Regions from separate parts of the Homo sapiens genome. Here region 2 is linked to region 1. The links are contacts of gene promoters, found by promoter capture Hi-C in human tissues and cell types (Jung and others, 2019). All regions are on one chromosome and are shown on one strand. The core of a region is centred on a gene start or on the middle of the fragment in contact, and the rest is flanking DNA. Distances in the headings are between cores, read along the strand shown.

Region 1 (4,863 bases), core at 1,144-3,643:
GCTGGGATTACAGACATTCGCCACCATGCCTGGCTAATTTTTTGTATTTAGTAGAGATGGGGTTTCACCACGTTGGTCAGGCTGGTCTTGAACTCCTGACCTCAGATGATCTACCCACCTCAACCTCCCAAGGTGCTGAGATTACAGGTGTGAGCCACCGCGCCTGGCCTATTTCCTAGGTAATCTTTTTTTTTTTTTTTTTTTTTTTTTTTTTGAGATGGAGTCTCTCGCTCTGTCATCAGGCTGAAGTGCAGTGGCACAATCTTGGCTCACTGCAACCTCTGCCTCCCGGGTTCAAGCAATTATTCTGCCTCAGCCTCCCAAGTAGCTGGGACTACAGGCGCACACCACCACGCCCAGCTAATTTTTGTATTTTTAGTAGAGATGGGGTTTTACCATGTTGGCCAGGATGGTCTCGATCTCTTGACCTTGTGATCCAGCCGCCTCTGCCTCCCAAAGTGCTGGGATTACAGGCATGAGCCACCACATCCAGCCAATATTTTTTGCATTTTTATTAGAGATGGGGTTTCACCATGTTGACCAGGCTGGTCACGAGCTCCAGACCTCAAGTGATCTGCCTGCCTCACATTCCCAAGGTGCTGGGATTACAGCCATGAGCCACACCATGCCTGGCCTGGTGTCCACTGTGTTTGATGGATGATTGAACTGAAAAAAAAAAAATTTTTTTTTTTTGAGACAGGGTCTCTGCTCTGTTGCCCAGACTGGAGTGCAGTGACACCATTTCGGCACTTCGGCTCACTGTAGCCTCAACCTCCCTGGCTCAGTGATCCTCCCACCTCAGCCTCCTGAGTAGCTGGGACTACAGCCTGTACCACCACACCCGGCAGGGTCTCACTATGTTACCCAGACTGATGTTGAACCTTGGGGCTCAAGAGATCCTCCGCCTAGGCCTCCTAAAGTGTTGAGATTACAGGTATGAGTTATCCCTGCTGGCCTAAACTGAAATTTGTTCAGATAATTCAAAGATCCTAATCAAAGGAGTGCACTTGCAGCTGGCTTGAAGCCCTGGAGTAGTAGTATGTCCAGCCACAGAGCCAGGCTGCAGTGACGGTAATGCTTCAGGAATCTATTCAATTTATTTCCTTAGCTCTAAAATTATGGCAGGCCAGGCACTGTGGCTCATACCTGTAATCCCTCAACTGTGTGAGGCCAAGGCAGGAGGAGTTGGATACCAGCCCGGGCAACATAGGGAGGTCTTGTCTTTACAAAATAATTAGCCTGGCATGGTGGTGCACACCTGTAGTCCCAACTATTCGGGAGGCTGTGGTGGGAGTATCACTTGAGTCCAACAGGTCGAATCTGCAGTGAGTGATCGCACCACTGCACTCCAGCCTAGGCGACAGAGGTCAAAAACAAAACAAAAGAAAACAAACAAAAAAAACATAGCAAACATCCAGAAGACTGTGTAGAGCAATGAATGTCTCTCAAGCCAGTGATCTTTTTCTCTTCATTTTTCACATCAGGTGGGTAGTGTGCCCACTTCGTAACAAGGTTTGAGGGAGGCACATTTGACACAAGAGCATGAAAACCCAATCACACTTATGACTTACAAAAGGATCAAGTCAGTGATCTTTAAGCTGTGGGCCATTAAATACATTTTGTGAGCCGAGTGCAGTGGCTCAGGCCTGTAACCCCAGCACTATGGGAGGTGGAGGTGGGAGGATCACTTGAGTCCAGGAGTTCAAGACCAGCCTTGGGCAACATACTGGGAACTCCCATCTCTATTAAATTTTTTTTTTTTAATTTTGTGGATTACAACCATTTCAAAAACTAAAATAAGCGTAAATGTATCAAAATGCAGCTTACATAGCGAGGATAAATGCTGTTTTGTCAATCTGTTGTTTCAAGTTTTTTATGTGTGGATTGGGTCACCTTGTAACAGTGACTTACCTTTATGGGTCACGGTTGAAAACATTTCCGGTGCAGTGGCTGACTGTAATCCCAGCACTTTGGGAGGCCGAGGCTGGAAGATCACTTGAAGCCAGAAGCCAAGAGTTCAAGACCTGCCTGGGCAACACGGCGACACCCCGTCTCTATTTAAAAAGAAAAAAAAAAGTTTCCAAGGCACTGAGATGCCAGGAACCCGAGGTGTGTGTCCAGTAGGGGAGGGAGCAAATTGGGCGTTTGGAAAAAGTCCCACGCCTGGAAAGGAATACACAGTGGGGGGGTGGGGGGCGGGGCACATCGACTACTTCAAGGCACACTCCCACGGTTCAGAAAACCGATTGGCTAAAACTGGGAAAGTCCCGCCCACAACGCTCACTGGCCAATGGCTGCGTGAAATCAGTGCGAAGTGGGCGGGATAGAGAGCGTGGGCGGGGGGGCTAGCCTCGTGCGGGCTCCTTAAGTAGCGGCTGCGTGGCTTCCCTGGCACGCTACTCTTACGACGTCACGGTCAGGTGGTGCAGAGCTGGACGGCAACGACGTCGGACGCGCCCCTTCTTGGAACAATGTCCCACCACGGAGGAGCTCCCAAGGCCTCTACGTGGGTCGTTGCTAGTCGGCGAAGCTCGACAGTGTCCCGAGCGCCAGAGAGGAGGCCGGCGGAGGAGTTGAATCGAACAGGTCCTGAGGGATATAGTGTCGGCAGAGGTGGTCGCTGGAGAGGCACCTCTAGGCCCCCGGAGGCCGTGGCCGCTGGTCACGAGGAACTGCCGCTGTGTTTTGCTTTGAAGAGCCACTTTGTTGGCGCGGTAATCGGTGAGAATGGGAGTGGCTGGCAGGGCAGGATAGGTGGGGCCAGGGGCGGAGCCTGGGCGAAGGCATTTCCTCCCCACTGCCTCACCTCCAATCAGCTGCCACCTAGTGAGGTTCAGGTCTCTCCCAGAGCTATTTGTAAAACCTGGGGATAGAGTATAATTTAATCTGGCCGGGCGCGTTGGCTCACGCCTGTAATCCCAGTATTTTGGGAGGCCGAGGCGGGCGGATCACCCCAGGTCAGGAATTCGAGACCAGCTTGGCCAACATGGCAAAACCCTGTCTCTACTAAAAATATATATATTAAAAAAAATAGCTGGGCGTGGTGGCGCGCGCCTGTAATCCCAGATACTCCGGAGGCTGAGGCAGGAGAATGGCTTGAACCCGGCGGCAGAAGTTGGCAGTGAGCTGAGATCGCGCCACTGCACTCCAGCCTAGGTGACAGAGCAAGACTCCGTCTCAATTAAAAAAAAAAAAAAAAAGTAATTTAATCCACCTTTTGGTGTTTATACAGACAATGTATTTGGGAGAGCAACTCCTAGAAGACTTATGAAATCTTAGGGCTGAAGAGGGATGCTTAGAACAGGCCTTTTAACAGACAGCTAACCCCAGAATGAAAAACAAAACTTAATCAGTCTTTCTATGAGTACCATTTAGAGCCAGAAATCAAAGAAAAGCTATAAGGTCATTGTAGGGCTGCCTAGAGCAGTTGTATCTTGCTTTTAGTTTCCTTAATTTTTAAAAAGTTAAAAACTTTTCTTACTACATCTTGAGTGTTAACATTCAATTCTGAATTTTTAATTTTTTTCTTTCTTTTGATTTTTTTTTTTTTTGAGGCAGCTCTGTGGCCCCAGCTGGAGTGCAGTGTGGCGTGATCTCGGCTCACTACAACTTCCACCTCCCGGGCTCAAGCGATTCTAGCACCTCAGCCTCCCTAGTAGCTGAAATTACGTGCGCCACCACACCTGGCTAATTTTTGTGTTTTTAGTAAAGATGAGGTTTCACCATATTACCCAGGATGGTCTCGAACTCCTGTGGATCCACCCACCTCGGCCTCCCAAAGTGCTGAGATTACAGGCGTAAGCCCGGCCCATTTCTGAATTTTTTTGAAAAGCATTTAAAAATGATTAGAATGATTACCCCATTGATTGCCATTAAGCCCGAGTATAAATTGCCACATTTTACCTATTAGGTGTATTTCACCCTTTTTAAAACCTGAGAAAAATGAATAGATGGAGGCTGCTACAAAATAGTGCATTGTAAGACTAATTGCTGTACTACCCAGAGACTCATTGGCCTTTCAGAAGGCTTGGGCTCAGATCTGAAGAATGATGCTCCAAGAAAGAAAGCCACTAGGTTTGCAATAAAAATCACTTAAGTTAATACTTAGCAGATGAAAGGGCACTGTGCTACAGAGCACTCACTTGATGTTGGATCTGGATCCATCTTTTTTATTGTAAAAAATGAAATACCCTCTTTTAAACGTATATCACAATACTAATAATAAGCACAATGTTGTATCCCAGATCTCTGGAACTTGCATGACTAAAACTGTATACTCATTGAACAGCTCCCCATTTTTTCCTGCCCCATCCCAGGGACCCACCATTTACATTGTTTCTGAGTTAGATTACTTTAGGTAATCCATATAAGTAGAATCATGCAGTAATTGTCTTTGTAATTGGCTCATTTCTCTAAGAATAATATCCTCCAGGCTTACCCATTTTGTAGCATGAGACAGGATTTTTTTCCTTACTAAGGCTGAATGGTATTCCATTATTAAGTATATACCTTACTTTATCTATTAATCAGTCTATGATAAATGGGTAGCTTCCACCTTTTGATTTCAGTAGTGTTATTATGAAAATGGAAGTGCAATATATCTTTGAGACTCAGCTTTAAATTCTTTTGGATGTATACCCCAAGTGAGACTGCTGGATCATATGTTAATTCTGTTTTTAATTTTTTAGTTAATCTATACTGTTTTCCATAGTGGCAGCACCATTTTCAATCCCACCAACAGTACACAGGGGTTCCAATTTCTCCACATTCTTACCAACACTTTTTTTCTGTTTTTGATAATGGTCATCCTACCAGATGTGAGGTGACAATCATTTTGTGGTTTCGATTTGCGTGGACCTGATT
Region 2 (4,695 bases), core at 1,776-4,275, 1.3 Mb before region 1:
TGCTTAATGAAGTTAAAAAAAATTATTTAACTAAGATTAGAAAGATGAAAACAGAATGCTCACCAGCCCATCTATAATTCTCATCAGTTCATTAGAAATCCCTTCTGTGGGTCTCTAAATAACACAAAAGTTCAAAAATTCTGGGGGGACACAGATATTCAGTCCATAACACTGAGGGTTAAAGGAGGTAGAGTAATTTGCTTAGTGTTACAGAGCTATCTGTCTTATAGTTCTGAATAAGTTTTTTAAAATTAAATAGTAAGAATTGTTTTTATAGAATTCTTCCATGAAGGCTGTTCTTTTAGACTAGACCTTTAACATATTCATCCAGCTAGGGGAAAAAAGAAATAAAAAAATTCTCTATGAGTAAATATGCGAGTATGTGACCTGTTTGTTCATGTGTAATTATATGTAAACTACATTTATTGTAAATATTAACTGGCAAGCTTTAAGACTTTTAAAATTACTATTCCTAGGAATTTACCCTTATTAATCATTATGACTTGAGAGGATTTTAAATGACATTAATTGTGGCTGCTATTTATCCAGACACTATGCTAAGTCCTTTACTTACCTTATTTCATTGAGATCTCACAACAATACTAAGGAAAAAACAATATTATTATCCCCATTTTACCGATGAGGAAACTCAGTATATTAGCTTAGGCTTCCATTACAAAATACCATTGGCTGGGTGGCTTAAAGTCCATGATAAAGGTGCCCATCAATTTTGTTCCCTGCCAAGGGCCATCTTCCTGGCTTGCAGATGGCCCCCTTCTCACTGTGCTCTCACATGGTGGAGAGAGGGAGAGGGTTCTGGTTTCTCTTCCAAGTATTATATGGACACTCATCCCACCTTGAGAGCCCCACCCATATGGCCTCATCTCCACCTAATTACCTTTCAAATGCTCCACCTCCAAATATGACTCCTCCACTGAGGGGTAGGGTTTTAATATTTGAATTCTGGGTTCAATTTAACATTTGAATATTCAGTCGATAACACTGAGGGTTAAAGGAGGTAGAGTAATTTATTTAGTGTTACAGAGCTAGTAAGTGGTTAAAAATAAAGTGCGCTCCAGAGACTTCCAGGGATGATGCTATCCTGGGAAATAATTTTCTGCACTGAAATAATATTTTACATTGGTGTGAGGGCTTAAAAAAATCCTCAGCTTGACTTTTCCTTACTACCTCCAGCATAAGCACTCTTTCAAAGAACCATGTGGCTTGCCTCTCTCCTGGACTGCCTTGCTTATGGTCTGGTTTCCCTGGGAAAAACAAAGGGATTCTTTCAATTCTCTGTCCCATCACATAAATTTGTCAATAAAAGTCCTTCAGTGACCTCCCATTCCGCTTAGAAGAAAATAAAAAATTCCCTCCATGGTTCTCAAGGCCTTCTTGACTTCATGTAACTGACCTTATCTCCAATCCCCACTCCACTCTGCCTCGTCTGCCCTGACCCAAGCTCTTTCCTGTCCAGCCTTTGCACGGGCTGCTCCATCTGCCTGGAATCCTCTTCCCCACATGAGTGGAAGGCGTGTTTCTCCTCGTCCTTCAGGATCCCACTCCTCACTCAGGCTTCCCTGACAATCCTGTCTATGTAGCCATGTCCTACCCCTAGCCAGGGGCGTGTCTGTATGTTTCTCTCTTTTATTTGTCTTCCTAGCTATTAAAGCTACCTGCTATTTCTCCATGTTCTTTTGTTAATCTGATTTATCACCTGCCTCTCTTAGTTACCTACAAGTTTTCTGTGAACAAGGACTTAGTTTTGTTCATGTTTATATCACCAGTGCCTCAAAAGCACCTGGTATGCAGTAGATGATCAATTATTATGTGTTGAATTTATGAATGTATCACTCTTAAGAGACAGAAAGAATCCCAGTTCAGAAGTGCTAAGGGGCTATGTCCAAAGTTGTCCGGGATGTAAGAGACAAAACCACAACTCACACTTAGGTCTTCTTACTTTATTGGTCTTTCCATTCCTCTCTCCTACCCTTTTCTGTAGAAACAGAATAAGGAGCAAAACACACTCCTCTGAAAGTTGAAAGTGGTGAAAGAGAACTGAGATCTACTAAGCATTAAAGCTGTGTCAGATATTACACCAACATTCTCTAAAGTCCTAAGAGGTACAGTTACTACCCTCAATTTACAGATGAGGGAAATAAAGCTTAGATGGACTAATTCACTTATTCATGATCACTCAGCAAATCACTGGCAGAGCCTTTGTTCCAGCCCTGGCTTGTATCTGGTAATAATGCCCTTACTTAGGGGATGCTGACCATGGACATTCGACGAAACCCTTTTCTGGGCTTTCATTAACCTAGGAGTAAAAGAAAGGGGATAGCTTCACTTTAGATGATAGTGAAATTTTCTAAAATTTATAACACAATCCCCCCTTGCCTCATGCCTCTACGCTTTTGTTTACTATGATGGTATTTAAAGCTAAAACAAAACCCAGAAATCTTTGGGTTTTGAAAGCAATCTGTTAAAAACTATAATAATCCATGTATCCTTAGACTTGAGAGCATTTCTAAATGAAGCTTGCAATCTGATCATTTGGTGATGTTTGGATTATGTGGTTATAGTAGGATTTAAAATGCCTTTTCACACAGATACTATAGAAAGGTGAGCAGCAGGTTGCACACAGTGACAAATTAGCGGTGCTCTTAGCCAGGCTGTTTAAATTATTTTTAGGCAGGAGACATACTGTACACACCAGGTTTTAGATGCAAGTAATTACTATGAAATGTTACCTCACTCTTTGCCTGTAGTTAATCTGAGCTCTCCCTATTTCTCTCTCTTTCCTTCCAGTTCTATTCCCTAATACTTCATGTATTATCTTCCTTGCAAGTTCCCTTTTTTCTGTGAAATATTTTCTTGTTATATTGGCAAGGATACTTATCCTTACAAAACTGGTAGTGGCTGCAGCAGCCATGCCCAGAGCTTACTATGCAGAGACTAGTGCCTATATCGGAAGTTGAGACAGGTTGCTATACCAAACCTATCTTTAGTTCACTACCTGTTTGCTTCATTAGGTAGAAGCTTTCTCCTAGACTTAGGAGAAGCAAAAACAAACACAAAAAAACAAGCAAACAAAAACAATGCTCCTTTATTTAAAGGAGCATTTTCTCAGCATCTGAACCAATTATACATGCCTACTTTCCATATCTAAATTTATAGCATAGCACAATGAGAACTCATATTAAATGGAAGACCTTGAGGCTCTGCAGTATCCTGGATCATCTAACAAAGTTTTTTTATATATTTATATGTGTATATATATCTATACACACATACACACAGATACACCCAAACACTATACATACTAAGCATTTAACATATTTGAGGAAGTTAACTTTATCACATCACAGTTCACGTTTGTATAACTTCCTAAGAAAAGGTGGAATCTATTACAAAACAAACAGAAAAAGATGATTTAAAAAGCCCTAAGAGTTGGAGCTGTTTTTATTCCTTCATAGAGCCTGCATTCTAATAACCATTTAATATAACCTCTACCTTGATTTGTACATGGACTAAAAAGGTATGACCACTGGGGCTTAGCACTGAAGCAAGAAGAAACAAAAAGAGGTTGAAGGAACACTACTTACATAAGATTTCCAGATGTGGGATTACTGTGTATTCAGATTCCTTACACAATATTAATAGCACATATAAAATAATTAAAATTTCTGGGAACTTTTAAGCTGTTTGATGTATCAAGCAGGGTCTACCTTCATGTTATAGTGATTGCCAGGTTTCAGATGCTGGGTAGGTGTCAGGTGGATACTTCATTCATGATGCCAATAGAGTGTCAAATAAATATGGATTTTTTAACTATGAGATAATATATTATCATACTTCTGCACCCTCTTCCAATTATGAGACACAGTTTTCTTTGATGTCACTCAGGCTCAGAAAGTTGAACACCCTTCACTTGATGTGATTTGGCAATAATTGTCTTTGATGCTGAGAAAACATGCACAGTATGAAGCAGAAAAATACAGCTGGGTGAGGTGGCTCATGCCTGTAATCCCAGCATTTTAGGAGGCCAAGGCAGGAGGATCAGTTGAACCCAGGAGTTGGAGACCAGCCTGGATAACATAGTGAGACCCTGTATCTACAAAAAAATTTAAAAATTAGCCAGGCATGGTGGGGCGTGCTTGTAGTCCCAGCTACTTGGGAGGCTGACATGGGAGGATTGCCTGAGCCAGGCGATTGAGGCTACAGTGAGCTGTGATTGTGTCACTGCACTCCAGCCTGGGTGACAGACAGAGACTCTGTCTCAAAATTCAATCAATCAATAAAATAAAATAGAAAAATGCAACCTGACAATCGTTTTTTTAAAAAACAAAACGGGCTGAGCACGGTGGCTCATTCCTGTAATGCCAACACTTTGGGAGGCTGAGGCAGGTGGATCACTTGAGGTCAGGAGTTCAAGACCAGCCTGGCCAACGTGGTGAAACCGTGTCTCTACTAAAAAAAAAAAAAAAAAAAAAAAAAAAAAAAATACAGAAATTAGCCAGGCATGGTGGCAGATGCCTGTAATCCCAGCTACTTGGGAGGCTGAGGCAGGAGAATCGCTGGAACCCGGGAGGCAGAGGTTGCAGTGAGCCGAGATCATGCCACTGCACTCCAGCCTGGGCAACACAGCGCGACTCCATCTCAAAAATAAAATAAAATACAAAACAAAGTACATAA

The links. Contacts are between HindIII fragments. The study calls those that stand out against the background at their distance.
Region 2: a fragment that was not itself captured here is called in contact with the fragment with the promoter of DDX43 in region 1 in 1 of the 25 tissues and cell types used here (lymphoblastoid cells).

The regions. Positions count from the first base shown.
Region 1 is chr6:73,392,435-73,397,297 of GRCh38, forward strand. DDX43 (DEAD-box helicase 43) reads left to right here and starts at 2,394. Exons shown (of 17, transcript NM_018665.3): 1 at 2,394-2,721. The coding sequence starts at 2,472. It overlaps LOC124901538 (small nucleolar RNA U13), which reads right to left and starts at 1,579; the gene lies at 1,479-1,579. It also overlaps a transcript of OOEP not described here. RefSeq lists an enhancer at 2,011-2,511. The HindIII fragment of the contact is 17,001 bases long and covers 1-4,863 here.
Region 2 is chr6:72,075,603-72,080,297 of GRCh38, forward strand. The region is part of intron 2 of RIMS1 (regulating synaptic membrane exocytosis 1); the gene reads left to right. Among named protein-coding and RNA genes, the nearest start is that of RIMS1, 190 kb to the left of the region's middle. The HindIII fragment of the contact is 3,441 bases long and covers 1,306-4,695 here.